6 separate regions of the Homo sapiens genome follow, and regions 1, 3, 4, 5 and 6 are each linked to region 2. Evidence: promoter capture Hi-C in human tissues and cell types (Jung and others, 2019). All regions are on one chromosome and are shown on one strand. The core of a region is centred on a gene start or on the middle of the fragment in contact, and the rest is flanking DNA. Distances in the headings are between cores, read along the strand shown. Region 1 overlaps PRORP (protein only RNase P catalytic subunit). Region 2 holds the start of PSMA6 (proteasome 20S subunit alpha 6). Region 3 overlaps PPP2R3C (protein phosphatase 2 regulatory subunit B''gamma). Region 4 has its middle 25 kb from the start of NFKBIA. Region 5 has its middle 10 kb from the start of INSM2. Region 6 overlaps FAM177A1 (family with sequence similarity 177 member A1).

The links. The method cuts DNA at HindIII sites, captures the fragments that hold promoters and counts their contacts. A contact is called where the count stands out against the background at its distance.
Region 1: a contact is called between a fragment that was not itself captured here and the fragment with the promoter of PSMA6 in region 2, in 1 of the 25 tissues and cell types used here (hippocampus).
Region 3: a fragment that was not itself captured here is called in contact with the fragment with the promoter of PSMA6 in region 2 in 1 of the 25 tissues and cell types used here (liver).
Region 4: a fragment that was not itself captured here is called in contact with the fragment with the promoter of PSMA6 in region 2 in 2 of the 25 tissues and cell types used here (dorsolateral prefrontal cortex and hippocampus).
Region 5: a fragment that was not itself captured here is called in contact with the fragment with the promoter of PSMA6 in region 2 in 1 of the 25 tissues and cell types used here (hippocampus).
Region 6: a fragment that was not itself captured here is called in contact with the fragment with the promoter of PSMA6 in region 2 in 1 of the 25 tissues and cell types used here (hippocampus).

The regions. Positions count from the first base shown.
Region 1 is chr14:35,140,272-35,142,971 of GRCh38, reverse strand. All of the region lies in intron 4 of PRORP (protein only RNase P catalytic subunit), which reads right to left. The region is part of intron 4 of PRORP-PSMA6 (PRORP-PSMA6 readthrough); the gene reads right to left. Among named protein-coding and RNA genes, the nearest start is that of PRORP, 19 kb to the right of the region's middle. The HindIII fragment of the contact is 3,860 bases long and covers 1-2,700 here.
Region 2 is chr14:35,291,100-35,293,799 of GRCh38, reverse strand. It overlaps PSMA6 (proteasome 20S subunit alpha 6), which reads right to left and starts at 1,418. Exons shown (of 7, transcript NM_002791.3): 1 at 1,248-1,418. The coding sequence starts at 1,323. The region is part of intron 9 of PRORP-PSMA6 (PRORP-PSMA6 readthrough); the gene reads right to left. RefSeq lists enhancers at 955-1,014, 1,095-1,214, 1,335-1,414, 1,131-1,717. The HindIII fragment of the contact is 27,585 bases long and covers 1-2,700 here.
Region 3 is chr14:35,092,250-35,094,949 of GRCh38, reverse strand. The region is part of intron 10 of PPP2R3C (protein phosphatase 2 regulatory subunit B''gamma); the gene reads left to right. The region is part of intron 1 of LOC101927178 (a long non-coding RNA gene); the gene reads right to left. Among named protein-coding and RNA genes, the nearest start is that of PRORP-PSMA6, 28 kb to the left of the region's middle. The HindIII fragment of the contact is 3,789 bases long and covers 1-2,700 here.
Region 4 is chr14:35,428,483-35,431,182 of GRCh38, reverse strand. It overlaps the pseudogene DNAJC8P1. Among named protein-coding and RNA genes, the nearest start is that of NFKBIA, 25 kb to the right of the region's middle. The HindIII fragment of the contact is 3,253 bases long and covers 1-2,700 here.
Region 5 is chr14:35,522,715-35,525,414 of GRCh38, reverse strand. No RefSeq gene overlaps it. Among named protein-coding and RNA genes, the nearest start is that of INSM2, 10 kb to the left of the region's middle. The HindIII fragment of the contact is 5,921 bases long and covers 1-2,700 here.
Region 6 is chr14:35,061,207-35,063,906 of GRCh38, reverse strand. The region is part of intron 2 of FAM177A1 (family with sequence similarity 177 member A1); the gene reads right to left. Among named protein-coding and RNA genes, the nearest start is that of FAM177A1, 16 kb to the right of the region's middle. The HindIII fragment of the contact is 3,938 bases long and covers 1-2,700 here.

The DNA.
Region 1 (2,700 bases), core at 192-2,691, 150 kb after region 2:
TGGTGGCTTATGCCTGTAATCCCAGCACTTCGGGAAGCCAAGGCAAGAGGATCACTTGAGCTCAGGGCATCAAGACCAGCCTGGACCACATAGTGAGATCCCATCTTTACAATTTTTTTTTTTTTGAGACAAGAGTCTCACTCTGTCACCTAGGCTGCTGGAATGCAGTGGCGCGATCTCAGCTCACTGCAACCTCAGCTTCCTGGGTTCAAGCAATTCTCCTGCCTCAGCCTCCCGAGTAGCTAGGACTACAGGCATGAGCCACTATGCCCAGCTAATTTTTTGTATTTTTATTAGAGAACGGGTTTTGCCATGTTGTCCAGGCTAGTCTCAAACTTCTGAGCTCAGGCAATCCACCCACCTCGGCCTCCCAAAGTGCTAGGATTACAGGTGTGAGCCACCAAGCCCAATGCCATCTCTACCCTATCTAAAATTTTTTTTTTTTTAATTTAAAAATTAGCAGGGCAGGGTGGCATGCACCTGTAAGTCCTAGCTACTTGGGAAGTTGAGGTGGGAGGATTGCTCCAGCCCAGGAGTTCATTGCTGCAGTGAGCTATGATCACACCATTGCACCCCAGCTTGGGCAAAAGAGCAAGGCGTCATCTCTTGGAAAAAAAAAAAAAAAAAAGCAATGAATTTATAATTTACAGGATGAGCTTCCAGGTGTGGTGGCTCACACTTATTATCCCAGCACTTTGGGAGGCTGAGGTGGGAGGAATGCTTGAGCCCAGGAGTTCAACACCAGCCTTGGCAACATAATGAGACTCCATCTCTACATAAGATAATAAATTAAGGCTGGGCGCGGTGGCTCACGCCTGTAATCCCAGCACTTTAGGAGGCCGAGGCGGATGGATCAGCTGAGGTCAGGAGTTCAAGACCAGCCTGGCCAACATGGTGAAACCCTGTCTCCACTAAAAATACAAAAATTAGCTGGGCGTGGTTGCAGGCACCTGTAATCCCAGCTACTCAGGAGGCTGAGGCAGGAGAATCGTTTGAACCCAGGAGGCAGAGGTTGCAGTGAGCCGAAATCGTGCCATTGCACTCCAGCCTGGGCAACAACAGCAACACTCCGTCTTAAAAAAAAAAAATTGCCCAGGTGTTGTGCCACATGCCTGTAGTCCCAGCTACTCATGAGGCTGAGGTGGGAGGATCACTTGAGCCCAGGAGGTCTCAGCTGCAGTGAGCCGTGATTGTGCCACTGCACTCCAGCTTAGGTGACAGAGCAAGACCCTGTCAAAAAAAAAGTGGTCATGAGTTAATAATCATGGAGGATGGGGGTCCATTATGTTAGTCTCTTTTTGATTATGTTTGAAATTTTCTCTAATGAAAATATTAAAGAATTATTATCTTTGTAGTTGAATATAAAAAATCTGACTGTAATTTAATGTTATTATCAAGAACCATGTCTAGGCATAGTAGCTCACACCTGAAATCTCAGCACTTTGGGAGGCCAAGGTGGGAGGACCACTAGAAGCCAGGAGTTCAAGACCAGCCTAGGCAACATAGTGAGACCCCGTCTCTACAGAAAAAATTAAAATAAAAAAATTAGCCAGATGTGATGGTACACACCTGAATCCTAGCTACCCAGGAGGATGAGGCAGGAGGATTACTTCAGCCCAGGAGTTCAAGGCTGCAGTGAGTTATGATCATGCCACTGTATTCCAGCCTGGGTGAATAGTAAGAACTTGTCTCAAAAAACAAAACAAAACAAACAAACAAAAACAAAAAAAAAAAGAAAAAGAAGGAAGGAAAATAAGAAAAAAACCTAATTAACATTAAAGTAACACTATGCGCATAGCTCCAAATTCACTTTTTGACCTTCACTGATGCCCACTCAATTAGTGTCAGTAGTTAAATCAGTAGATGCAAATTATTTGGAATTCTGCTTTGTTCACTTAAAATTCACATATACCACTCTTTTCTCTACCTACTATCACTAATCTGACTTACACAGAAATGACAGATATCTTTCAGTTTAATATTTTAAAAAGTTCAACAAATCCTTTAACCTGATGGACTTGGTCATACCTAGAATAATTTTTATATGTTACATTATTGCCATCTGCTGGCTATGTTGTCTAATTACAGTAAACAAATGTTTAAAACAGAAAAGCTAAAAAATTACCTTATATAATAACTGAGATTTTTCTCCCAAAACTATTCAACAGAAAAGAAGCTGCCATACTTTAAGTTTCCTCAAAATCTCACATTAGAAGCAATTGTCCTTGATTCTAGCTGCACTTTAAAATCACCTGGAAGCTTTTGAAAATCCTAATACCTGGACCCCACCAAGCCAAAGCAATTAAATCAGAATCTCCATGTTATGAAATGAAAGTCAACCACAGACTGACAGAAAATATTTGTAAAATATATTGGACTTAGGACTTGTATCTAGAATATAGAAACAGTTCTTACAACTCAATAATGAAACAATCCAATTTTTAAAATAGGCAAAAAATCTGAACAAATAAATATTATACCAAAGATATATGGATGGCAATTAAGCATATAAAAAGATGCTCAACAACATTAGTCATTAGGAAAATCTAAATTAAAATCACAATGAGATACCACTTCATACCTATTAGAACAGTAAAGAGACTAACCTTAACCATACTAAGCATCAGCCAGGATGTGGGGCTACTATAGCCCTCATACTCTGCTGGTGGAAATGTAAAATGGTACAACCACTCTGGAAAA
Region 2 (2,700 bases), core at 169-2,668:
ATATACGAAAATTATTTAAAACTCAGGAATTTAATACAATAAATGAAAATTCTTTGAGGATACAGTTATCTCTTTGTTCTATCTTTAATCATGTTTTTCAATTGGGGATAAATTAAAAGGGCTACTGAATTATCCAACAAGATGTTTCTTGCTACATTATATACACTATGCAGTAATACACTGAGCAGTTTCATTCCAAGTTATCTTTAACTCTATTTCTAAAATTTACAGGTGAAGAGAACCTCATTTACAGACCAACTCTCTCCTTATGATTCCAAGCACAGATGATTATATTACTGTGCAAGACACGGAGCCACTAAACTCATTCAAAAATAAAACCATCACGGACCAGATGTAAATCAAGCCCTCCTGACACTAAATTCTCTATGGTAAGAGATCAAGGGTCTGGCTTATAATCATAACCTAAACCTTGACACCGTTTCAGCGCAATACATTACTATTCCGAGTAACTGATAGTTTCTTTCCACTACAGGTGTTCTTCAGTAAACTAGTACACAGTACCTCATCTACAACTCAGAATCGGCATTTAAATTACAGGAGCATTCAAACAGATGTGGGTAAAAAGGGGATGCCAATCTCAAGAGCAGCTCTAGAATTGAGTCACTCATTCTATCAGATTCCCAAAGATGTCTTGAACTCTGTAGATATTTGTAAATTGGCACTTTTAATTTTTTTTATCCGTTTGTTTAACGTATCTGTCACTCTAAGCTGTGAGCTTCAGTATAGAAGAGGGTGTAACATTCACATTTGTATCTCCTAGGACTAGCAGTGTCTGGTATATAGCAGGCTTCGAGTGCCTGTGTGGAATTAACCACAGAAGTCCATGCTGCAAACAAAGGAAAACGGAGAGGAGGCATTTTAGTTGAGACGTTAAGGAATCAATTACCCTTTAGAAACAGACCTTGTGCCTGGCCAGGACAGAATACAATAACTGAAGGGGCCTCACGAAGCCGGAGTCAGGCATTACAGCCCTATCTTCCTTAACTCTCCATTGGGTCTACGCAGTGTGGCCGCTCGCCCTGCAGAGACAGGCCTTCAGGCCCCCGATCCCTGCGTCCAGACGGGGGTGCAAACACCACAGAGCTCAATCCAGCTTCAGCCGTTCTCCCTTCCCAGCTCCAGCCCAGCTTCGGCCCCAGACTAAACCCGGGCCGCGTCTGCTCGCTCCAGGCACGTACCATGACAGGGCAATTCAGGTGGCCCACAGGCGAACCTGGTTCACTCACCTACTTGGTAGAGCCGACCCTCGGGTGAAAAAATGGTAATGTGGCGGTCAAAACCGGCGCTGGAACCACGGGACATGTTGGTAGAAGCACTACTTTAAACACAATCCCTGGGCCCCGTAGCTCCCGCACCAGGCACACAAGCACCTCCCGGAAGTTGCAGCGACTGCTTCCGGGGTACCAGCCGCGTTTCTTCCGCTCTTGCATGCCGAACTCACGGCTCTGGAGCCAGTTCGAGCACTGAGCTCTGAGGCCCCGCCCCCTAAGGGGGTGGTGGAGTGAGGGCGGGAGGCCTTTGAAGGTATGCGCCTGCGCCAAGCAGGCCTCTTGAGTGGATAGACGTGAAACTTGGGTCGTGGCGCTTTCAGGCTTTCATCTGGAGAATGAATTGACTATAGCAAGGACGAAAAGGCTTCCTGGGGGCCCAGAATAGCGATTTGCCTATCAGTGTGACCTAAATAGAACGTGTAATTAACAAGTCTCTTACATGCATCCTGTGTCTGGTCAGACTGCTGGCTTGCCTTCTTCCTAACCTCTTTTATCCTCCACTTTCATTCCTATTACGGGGGAAACAGGTTGCAGCTGCAGCTGCAGCCGTTAAATTTAGGCACTGAAGGAAGCGGGTTCAAGCAGCCGCTGGAAAGAACATTATTTTCTGACAGCCAGGCAAGATCTTCTTTTGGCCAGCAGCCCCGACAATTTTTAGTCTTTTTTTTTTTTTTTTTTTTTTTTGAGACAGAGTTTCGCCCTTGTTGCCCAGGCTGGAGTGCAATGGCGCGATCTCGGCTGACTGCAACCTCCCCCTCCTGAGTTCAAGCGATTCTCCTGCCTCATCCTCCCGAGTAGCTGGGATTATAGGCGTGTGCCACCAGGACCGGCTAATTTTGTATTTTTAGTAGAGGCGGGGTTTCGCCATGTTGGTCAGGCAGCTCTCGAACTCCTGAGCCCAAGTGATCCACCTTCCTCGGCCTCCCAGAGTGCTGGGATTACAGGCTTGAGCCACAGTGCCCAGGCAATTTTTAGTCTTGAAAGCGGAGGCCGGGCGCGGTGGCTCACGCCTGTAATCCCAGCACTTTGGGAGACCAAGGCGGGCGGATCACGAGGTCAGGAGATTGAGACCATCCTGGCTAACACGGTGAAACCCCGTCTCTACTAAAAAATACAAAAAAAATTAGCCAGGCGTGGTGGCGGGCGCCTGTAGTCCCATATACTTGGGAGGCTGAGGCAGGAGAACGGCGTGAACCGGAGAGGCGGAGCTTGCAGTGAGCCGAGATCATGCCACTGCACTCCAGCCTGGGCGACAGAGCGAGACTCCGTCTCAAAAAAAAAAAAAAAGAAAGAAAGCCTAACTCCAGCCTGGCCAACATAGGAAGGCCCCGTCTCTACAAAAAATAAAATTAGCTGTGCGTGGTGGCGCGCGCCAGTAGTCCCAGCTACTCGGGGGGCTAAGGTGGGA
Region 3 (2,700 bases), core at 103-2,602, 200 kb after region 2:
CAGAGTCTTGCTCTGTCGCCTAGGCTAGAGTGCAGTGGTGTGATCTCCGCTCAATGCAACCTCCACTTCCTAGGTTCAAGTGATTCTCCTGCCTCAGCCTCCGGAGTAGCTGGGATTATGGGTGCATGCCACTGCATCCAGCTAATTTTTGTACTTTTAGGAGAGATGGGGTTTCACCAGGTTGGCCAGGCTGGTCTTGAACTCCTGACCTCAGGTGATCTGCCTCCCAAAGTGCTGGGATTACGAGGCGTGAGCCACCACACTCGGCCCAGCATTATTGATATCACTGTGTAACAGTGTCTTTAAAATGTGTAAACTGATCAAATTACTTGAGATTCAGAGTCTTTGGTCTTAACGTAAATTAAAACATCTGCATTATGGCCTCAGGGCAAATAGAAAAGCTTATTGTTCATTTCATTGTCAGTGCACCTACTGTACAGTAGTGCATTCTAGTTTTTTTTTTTTTTTAAAAAAAAGCTGAGGCCAGGCTTGGTAGCTTATGGTTATAATCCCAGCGCTTTGGGAGGCCAAGGCCACAGAACCACTTAAGGCCAGTCGTTCAAAACTAGCCTGAGCAATACAGCGAGACTGTCTCTACAAAAAATAAAAAAATTACTTGGGCATGGATGGAATGTGCCTGTAGTATAGCTACTCGGGAGGCTGAGGCAGGAGGATTGCTTGACCTGAGGAATTTGAGGCTGCAGTGAGCTATGATGAGGCCACTGCACTCCAGTCTGGGCAGTAGAGTGAGACCATGTCTCTTAAAAGCTGAAACATTAGTAAATTATTCTGGCTATTTTCAGCTAGATAGTTCCGTCATTAAATTACCAGGTCAAATGTAGTAACACATATGCCATGATTTAATTCTGAGAATCAGGTTGTATTAGTCTCTAGAAGTGGCTATATGAACAGCTGAAGATAACATGCACTTGTCTTTTTATTATAACAATGCAAAATACTTGAGAAGGAAAATTCTAAACAGCATTTTAAAATCACCATTTTTGCTGCTAAAAACATGGGTTAAGAATCTGATAACTTTGGGAGGCCGAGGCGGGTGGATCACAAGGTCAGGAGATGGAGACCATCCTGGCTAACACGGTGAAACCCCGTCTCTACTAAAAATACAAAAAATTAGCTGGGTGCGGTGACGGGCACCTGTAGTCCCAGCTACTCCAGAGGCTGAGGCAGAATGGTGTAATGGTGTGAACCCGGGAGGCGGAGCTTGCAGTAAGCCGAGATGGCGCCACTGCACTCCAGCCTGGGCAACTGAGCGAGACTCCATCTCAAAAAAAAAAAGAATCTGATAAATTTCCCAAACCAGTTATGCTTAAAAAATAGTCATATTGTCATGAGAATGGGGGGGTCTTACATTTATCATTTAGCTTCAATAGCAGTTTGCTAAATAACACCATTAGTAACAACAAAAGAAAAGAGGGGAAAAGGCACAGAAAATTTACTTTGTAACTCCCACAGCTGTAAACAATAGACAGTGAGGAGCTTATATTATTAATATAATGATTCCTGATGAATAGAGAAAATCAGGCTACAACTATGGATGAAGTCAGATCACAATCTGCATTCTTTAACTCTTTAGTGCTATTTATGCAGAAAGGAACTTTTCTAAGAATATAAAATTTTTATCTAAGTGAGAACCTCCCAATTACTACTTTTTACCATTAAAAAAAAAATCTGAGTATCCTGTTTTTTTGTTTTGTTTTGTTGTTTTTGTTTTTGTTTTAGATGGAGTCTCCCTCTGTCGCCCAGGCTGGAGTGCAGTGGCGCGATCTCGGCTCACTGCAAGCTCCGCCTCCCGGGTTGACGCCATTCTCCTGCCTCAGCCTCCCGAGTAGCTGGGACTACAGGCGCCCGCCACCATGCCCGGCTAATTTTTTTTTGTATTTTTAGTAGAGACGGAGTTTCACCGTGTTAGCCAGTATGGTCTCGATCTCTTGACCTTCTGATCTGCCCGCCTCGGCCCCCCGAAGTGCGTATCCTGTTTTTATAGGGAAGGCTTTCTGTTCTCTTCATGTCTTTCTGGCCTTTCCATTTTGCCTTTTTATGGATGAGAGCAGTGTCAGCTCACTGTAAAATGTCTGGCAATCTCAAGACAGCTTCTTATTGGAAATCTGAATTAAAAATTTTAAACAATATTTTAAAATAGCAATTTAAATATACTGTTCTGAGACTGGGCACGGTGGCTCACACCTGTAATCCTAGCATTTTGGGAGGCCGAGGTGGGTGGATCACCTGAGGTTGGGAGTTTTGAGACCAGCCTGACCAACTTGGAGAAACCGCTTCTCTACTAAAAATACAAAATTAGCCAGGCGTGGTGGTGCATGCCTGTAATCCCAGATACTCAGGAGGCTGAGGCAGGAGAATGACTTGAACCTGGGAGGCAGAGGTTGTGGTGAGCCAGGATCGCGCCATTGCACTCCAGCCTGGGCAACAAGAGCGAAACTCCATCTCAAAAAAAAAATTATACTGTTCTGTTCATTCCAGATAAAAAATTTGTTTTTCAAAATAACTGCACTGAAATGAAGTTATAAGTTTATAGCTTAGTCATCTGTTTCAAAAGTTTGAAGCAGGATGCAGTAGTTCATCCCTCTAGTCCCAGCACTTTGGGAGGCCGAGGCCAGATGATTGCTTGAGCCCAGGAGTTTGAGACTAGCATGGGTAATACAGGAAAACCCCATCTCTACA
Region 4 (2,700 bases), core at 37-2,536, 140 kb before region 2:
GTAGACAGGGGGCACATGCCAAACACCACAGGGCATCAGGGCATCAGGTGCCTGTTCTGTGTGCCCACAGGTGTTCCCTGTCTTATCTGGGCCTTCTAAGGGAGCACACCCAGAAGCGAGCAACTGAAGCCAAGGGGCTTCCAAAGTGCCCCTTCCAGGCCTGTCTCTGACGTCACAGCAACACCATTTTAAGTAATATGTTTAATTGGATGATTTCCACAAACTAGGACGAAGTTTCTAACCATCACAATTCAGTGAAGTACAAAACACTGAGTTACAGGCTGTGGGAAGAGAAGGCAGCACCAATGGTGCCACCTTCCAATCCTGGTTGTTCTAGGGGCAGGGAGGAGGAAGGTCTTTTTTTAAACCAGTCCCCTCATTTCATTGTACAAAAGAATTACTCTGATCGATATTAAATTGTATTCAAAACGAAACAGACTAAAAAGCAAATACTACTCTATGTTGAGGTGGAAGTGGGAGGAAAGAATGAGTCCTTCGAAGCAGGAAGGGAGATAGCAGGGGGAAGGTTCTGTGCCTGTGACCCCGGGTGGTCACTCATGCTGCTCCATTTTTACTTTCGGTGGTCTCAGGAAGGTCCGATTTTTCTTCTCTTTCTTCCCCTTTGTATTGACTTGGAAGTTTCGCCAGCTGTCCACACGACCATCTCGACCTTCCTCAAAGTTTTTCTGCCACTCTCTTTCTCGTTTGGCTTTTTCTTGAGCTTCAATCTCTTCTTCCCTTTGCCGTTTCCTTTCATGCATCTCTTTGGCTTCTCTCTCTTTCCTTTTAATTTCCAGCTGAGCAAAGAGTTTCATTTTCTGTTTATATACAGCTTGTTTGAACAGCTCAGGATCATCCTCCTCTACAATCGTAGGTTTTCCTTCCTTCTTTGATTGTTTTTTTTTTTTCTCTCTTTCACAGTGTGTTCCACGTATTCTTTTCCTGCCTAAATTACATCCAGGACCCTCTTCTTTTGCTCCTGATCAGTAGCAACTTGTAAGCTTTGTCCACAGTTTCAAAAGCCTTTTGTGCTCTGTCAGCATCATCTTCATTTTTGTCAGGATGCACCAAGATGGATAACTGCCGAAACCTCTTTTTTATTTCTTCATCTGTAACTTCAGGATCTATCTGAAGAAACTCAAATGGGTTCAAATTGAAGTAAGAGGAACCAGGACGGGTCAGTCTTTCAATGTGGTTTTTGGATGTTAGAACCAAGTCTCCCTTCTCTATTTGTTTCCCCTGAAGACAAGGCCCGGGAGAACAAGCACCAGGCAGTCCCAGGAAAACATTCTTGGTGTCACTGTCAGGGTTGGAATGAATATGAGGTATGCTGTATGCCATCTTTATTCCTCACTGTAGGAGGTCATAAATGCTTCCTCTGTGCCGCCTCCGCCGCCCAAAGTCCCGCTCTCTCCTGAAGCCGCCATTTCCCCACAACTTTTTTAAAAAGTTAAAATCTATGGGCAGAAACTATATTTAAGAGTGTAAATTGGCCGGGCGCAGTGGCTCACGCCTGTAATCCCAGCACTTTGGGAGGCCGAGGCGGGCGGATCACAAGGTCAGGAGATCGAGACCAACCTGGCTAACACAGTGAAATCCCGTCTCTACTAAAATACAAAAAAATTAGCCGGGCGTAGTGGCGGGCGCCTGTAGTCCCAGCTACTTGGAAGGCTGAGGCAGGAGAATGGCGTGAACCCGGGAGGCGGAGGCTGCACTGAGCTGAGATTGTACCACGGCACCCCAGCTTGGGCAACAGAGTGAGACTTCATCTCAAAAAAAATAAAATAAAGTAAAACAAAATGTCTTCAAGGGCTGCCTGTATGGACAGATGAGATGTTACTTCAGCTTAATAAATTAATATTCAATGTATTAAAGTAACAAAAACATTACTTAAGCTTTTTTAAAAATAGAGTGTAAATTAGCACAATCACTTTAAAGACAATTTGTCTAAATCTCATAAATTTGTAAATACACATATCCTATAACCCAGCAATTCTATAAAATTATAGCTAGAACAGTAATTCTCAAACTTTAGTGTGCGTCAGAATCACTGGAGAACTTATTAAAGTAGTTTGGTAGGCCCCACCCCACCCCACCCCCGTTTCTGATTCAGTAAGCATGGGTTAAAGCCCAAAAATTTACATTTCTAACAAATCCCAGGTCATACTGATGCTGCTGGTTCATGCATCACACTTTGAGTATCACTGCCCTGAAGAAACCATCATGGATGTGCCTAAGGGGACACATACAGAAAATATTCACCATAGTATTGTCTATCACAAGTAAGGAAATGGATGAATAAATGTAGAATATAGCAATGAAGTTACGTGAAGGAACAACATGAATCCATATGAGTAAATCTCAAATCATAATGGTGAATGGAAAAGTAATTTGCAAAAGGATACATTTAAGATACCATTTATGTAAGACTTAATAGTATTAATATCCATTATTTACAGATACATTCATATGTACCAAAAGTATGAAAATATAGGAAGAATACATATTGGCAAAGGAGTCAGGGAATTGAGATTGCAAAGAGCTTCAAAAGGGGCTTCAATTGTATCTATAACATTGTGTTTTGTTAAAACTGACCTAAAGCTCACCTCTTTCCAATGCCCTGCCCTACCCTCCTACCCTGGAAAAGGTAGTCAGTAGAAAAGTAGACATCCTGTCTAGAGAAAAGCTGCAGAGGATGGT
Region 5 (2,700 bases), core at 27-2,526, 230 kb before region 2:
TGAGATCGAGACCATCCTGGCTAACACGATGAAACCCCGTCTCTACTAAAAATACAAAAAATTAGCTGAGCGTGGTGGCAGGTGCCTCTAGTCCCAGCTACTCGGGAGGTTGAGGCAGGAGAATGGCGTGAACCTGGGAGGCGGAGCTTGCAGTGAGCCAAGATCGCGCCACTGCACTCCAGCCTGGGCAACAGAGCGAGACTCCATCTCAAAAAAAAAAAAAAAAAAATCAGTGCTTTGAAGTAATGTCAGTTTGAAAAATCCTCAGCAGTTAACTTTTCAGATAATTGCTTCTATTTTGTCTTATCTTTTTTTCTCCTTCTAGAACCCTGGCCAAACCTATGTTAGACATTGTCACTGTACCTTCTGTGTCTTTTTCCTTCTTATATATATTTTTTTCTTTTCTTTTCTTGCCTCTGGAATATTTCTTCTGATGTTCTTCAGGTTTACTAAATCTTGAAGTATGTCTAATGTAGTATACACTTAAAATCTGTTGGATTTTATTATTTATTTATTTATTTATTTGTTTGAGACGGAGTCTCGCTTTGTCGCCAGGCTGGAGTGCAGTGGTGCAATCTTGGCTCACCGCAATCTCCACCTCCTAGGTTCAAGCGATTCTCCTGCCTCAGCCTCCCGAGTAACTGGGATTACAGGTGTGCACCACCATACCCAGCTAATTTGTGTATTTTTAGTAGAGACGGGGTTTCACCATGTTGACCAGGATGATCTCGATCTCCTGACCTCGTGATCTGCCTGCCTTGGCCTCCCAAAGTGCTGGGATTACAGGCATGAGCCACGGCACCTGGCCCTGGATTTTAAATTTGTATTTTAAAAATTAGCTATAAAATTTATTTTTATTTATAAAATAAAAATATATTTAAAATCACAATAAAATTCTATATGATTCTTTTTTCAAAGTCAAACCTGCTGCGTTACTCTTTGTGGTTTTCTGTTCTCTGTAGACAGCATCAAGTTGGTCTTTTGTCTTTAAACATACTCTTCATAATTGTTTTGTAGTCTTATTTTATAGTCTGAGTCTGATAAATTCAATATTTGAGTTATTTGTGAGTCTGTTTTTATTGTCTGTTGTCTCTACTGATACTTGCCCGTTTAATCTAGTTTCCTTATGTATCTGTTATTTTTTTATTAGGTGCTGAACATTACATTTGAAGAATTATTTCTAGAAATGATTTTAGGCCTATAATAAAGGTGTCTTGCTTCAAAGAGGATTTATATTTGCTTCTGGCACTACCAATTTAGAATTACTTTAACCCAAGTTCAAGGCTTAAAATTCACTGACCCAGGCAATTTGAATACAAGCAGTAAATTCTCAAGGGCTTTGGAGTCCCAGTATCTTGTTGGGGAGGATCTTCTATTAGATTTTCTATCTTATACACATCCTGGGTTTTTCTTTCTGTCTCCCTTGCCCTGCAAGTCTACCAGAATGAAGATTCTAATTGTCATGAGTCAGAAAATTTCCTCAGGGCAGAACAGTCTCCACATATGGGTTCCCATTTTTCCTTCACCTTTAGTAATTCCTTACTGTGTTTCATACTCTTTTATGCTTTAAGAATATTTTTAAAATCCAGCTCTGTTAGTTATTTTCACTAGGAGGATTTATCTGCTTAATTTAGCCTAACATTACCAGAACCATTAAATCAGAACAACATTTTAAAAGTTTTTGGTAATTATTACAAAGCTATCCTTCACAATGATTGTGCCTATTTATACTTCTGTCAGCAGGCATAGGAGTGCCACTTTTCCTGTTCTCTCAACTATGTTCTGTCAAACATGAGAAAAAATATTGCCAGTAAGATAAGTAAAAAGTGTAGCCGGTCACGGTGGCTCACGCCTGTAATCCCAGTACTTTGGGAGGCCAAGGCAGGCAGATCACTCGAGGTCAGGAGTTCAAGACCAGCCTGGCCAACATGGTGAAACCAGTCTCTACAAAAACTACAAAAATTAGCTGGGCATGGTGGCGCTCGCCTGTAGTCCCGGCTACTCGGGAGGCTGAAGCAGGAGAATTGCTTGAAACCGGGAGGAGGAGGTTGTAGTGAGCCGAGGTCGCGCCACTGCACTCCAGCCTGGGTGACAGAGTGAGACTCATCTCAAAAAAATAAATAAATAAAAGTGTTGTTTTGCGAAAATAAACTTGTATTTTATTATTAATGAAGTTTAACATCTTATAATCTATTTATTGAAATTGTAATTTTACTCTTTGTAATTTAACCTATTCAAATTTTCTGTTTATTTTTCTCAGAGTCCTTTGTTTATTATATAGCTGGTTCCACCAGAAAAAACCATTTCAGTTATTAAAATATTAAAATACTTCCATAACATTAGCAAATAACCACTACCTTTCCAAATGCTCTTCCCCTTGACTCTGGTCAGTTATTGTAGCCTCTTCACTACCCACCTCCCCATTATCCATCAGCTAAAGAGTTAACGCCCAATATACCAATGGGGCTCTAGGGCCCTGCTCCAGCTCTATGGCCATTATCAGTTCTGATTGGATAGTAACCATTTCATAATATTGTTAAATATTTTAACATAACCCCTGTGGATACATAAAGTATTTTTCCCATTTGACAATTGACTGACTGACTGACTGACTGATTGATTGAGAAAGAGTCTTACCCTGTCACCCAGGCTGGAGTGTAGTGGCACAATCATGGCTCAATGAAGCCTTGACTTCTCAGG
Region 6 (2,700 bases), core at 50-2,549, 230 kb after region 2:
CCAGCTAATTTTTGTATTTTTAGTAGAGATGGAGTTTCAGGGTTTTACCATGTTGGCCAGGCTGGTCTCAAACTCCTGGCCTCAAGTGATCTGCCCACCTCAGCCTCCCAAAGTGCTGGGATTACAGGCAAGAGCCATGTAATGTGGCCCAAAAGAAAAAATATAATTTTAAAGCTTTAAACTTGATATTTCAAAATTGGAATCATAAAGCAAATCAATTTTATAAACTCTAAAATGATACTAAATCTGGGTGCAGGACTAGATTTGTTATTTCAAAAAGAAAATGACACTAAATAGGAACTATGGAGAAAATTTATTTATTTATTTTGAGATGGCGTTTCACTCTTGTTGCCCAGGCTGGAGTGCAATGGCGGGATCTTGACTCACTGCAACCTCCACCTCCCAGGTTCAAGCGATTCTCCTGCCTCAGCCTCCCAAGCGGCTGGGATTACAGGCACCCGCCCCCATGCCTGGCTAATTTTTTGTATTTTTTTTTTAGTAGAGACGGGGTTTCACCATGTTGGCCAGGCAGGTCTCAAACTCCTGACCTCAGGGATCCACCCACCTTGGCTTCCCAAAGTGCTGGGATTACAGGCAAGAGCCACCATGCCTGGCCCCAAAGGGAAAATATAATTTTAAAGCTTTAAAATTGATATTTAAAAATTGGAGTCATAAATCAATTTTATAAACTCTAAAATGATACTAAAATCTGAATATAGAACTAGATCTTTTTTTTTTTTTTTTTTTGAGATGGAGTCTCACTCTGTTGCCAGGCTGGAGTGCAGTGGCGCGATCTTGGCTCACTGCAATCTCCGACTCCCGGGTTCAAGCCATTCTCCTGCCATTCATCCGCCTACCTCAGCCTCCCAAAGTGCTGGGATTACAGGCGTGGTCCACCGCACCCGACCTTTTTTTTTTTTTAAATGATACTAAATAGGAACTATAGAGAAAATTTAAAAAATAAGTTATGGGGTTTCAATCTCAAATCGAGTTCTAAAATTACCTTAAGTAAAAAAAAAAAAAAAACCGCAAATAAAATTTCTTGTGCTACTTGCTATATTTGCTTTATTAATTAATACTACCATATATTTTTCTTTTCTTTTTTTTTTTTTTGAGACAGGGTCTCACTTTGTTGCCCGGGCTGGAGTACAGTGGCATGATCATGGCTCACTGCAGCCTTGAATTCCTGGGCTCAAGCAATCCTCTTGCCTCAGCCCTCCAAAGCAAAGATTATAGGCATGAGGCACTGTGCTCAGCCAAGTCACTTTTCAGTGAGTTTTCATAGATATTATCTCATTTAATCTTTAAAAACAACTACAGGTAGGTGAGGCAAGTTATCTCTCTTCTTTGTAATCATGGAACTTTAACTACAATGAAAGTTAAGTCTTTGTCAAAGCAAGGTGACTACTACAGGACAGAGCCAGAACTAAAAACCAAGTTTCTGACATCTCATGGTACCTCTCAGTGAAGAAAATATAAAAAGATTTCTTATCACCCAGGGATCTGTTGGATTGGGCTTCACAACTCAGGGAAATTCCAACATGAATATGCTATATACATGGTCATTAAAGACCTTAATAGTGGATATAGACCTCTATCATAACAGCATGAGGAACTCTGGGCCCACTTCCCAGTAAAACTGATGAAATTTATTAAAGAATAAACATTTAAAGCACCTGGAAATGGTCTTAATGGCATATAAATGAATAAACATCTATTCAAGAAAATCTATGAAAATTTGGTAACAAAAGCAAACGTCTGTGGTAACTGAACTAAGACCACTCCCTCTCAGCACCCTCCCAGCAAAGGAAGGCAGAAACTGCACTTCAGACTGGTACAGCCAAGAATACAGGGTTCCCCCTCCCCTCAGCTTCCAGTTGGGTTTTCTTCTCAGGAGGAACAGAATATTAACCAGCACTTCTCATCTATTACTGAGGCCAATTTCCAGGTAAGTGTGGTTGACAGGGGGTGACTCTCTTCTTCCACCAGCCTCTGCTCACAGAATGGAGGCTCTACCTTGAGCATGGCACCACTGAGAACACCAGGGCCCTGATCGCCTTTACCCAGTTCATAAGGCAGCAGAGGCAAGTTCTACGCCAGCAGAGGCAAGTCAAAAATACTTACAGCTTTTTTTTTTAATATTATTATACTTTAAGTTTTAGGGTACATGTGCACAATGTGCCAGTTAGTTACATATGTATACATGTGCCATGCTGGTGTGCTGCACCCATTAACTTGTCATTTAGCATTAGGTATATCTCCTAATGCTGTCCCTCCCCCCTCCCCCCACCCCACAACAGTCCCCAGAGTGTGATGTTCCCCTTCCTGTGTCCATGTGTTCTCATTGTTCAATTCCCATCTATGAGTGAGATAAAAAAAAAAAAAAAGAAATGAGAAAAAAACAAATAGACATTTGTAAAACAAAGACTAAAAAAAAAAAAAAATACTTAAAGCTACTGACCCCACCTCCCATAAATGCTCAGCTCCTAAAGTGAAGGTGTTATTCAGACAGAAATGAGCCATTGTCCCCACCCCCAGCTCCAAAACCTTGGCTCAGAGATTGCCCTGAGTGAGAGGCAGAAGGGCGGGGCTGGGGTAGGGGAGCCAGCCAGGACAGGAAACAAAGCAGACAACTCCTAATCTCTTCCCAAAGGAACTGACTTCATTTGCAACACACCTAGAAAAGTCCAAGGCTAAGGG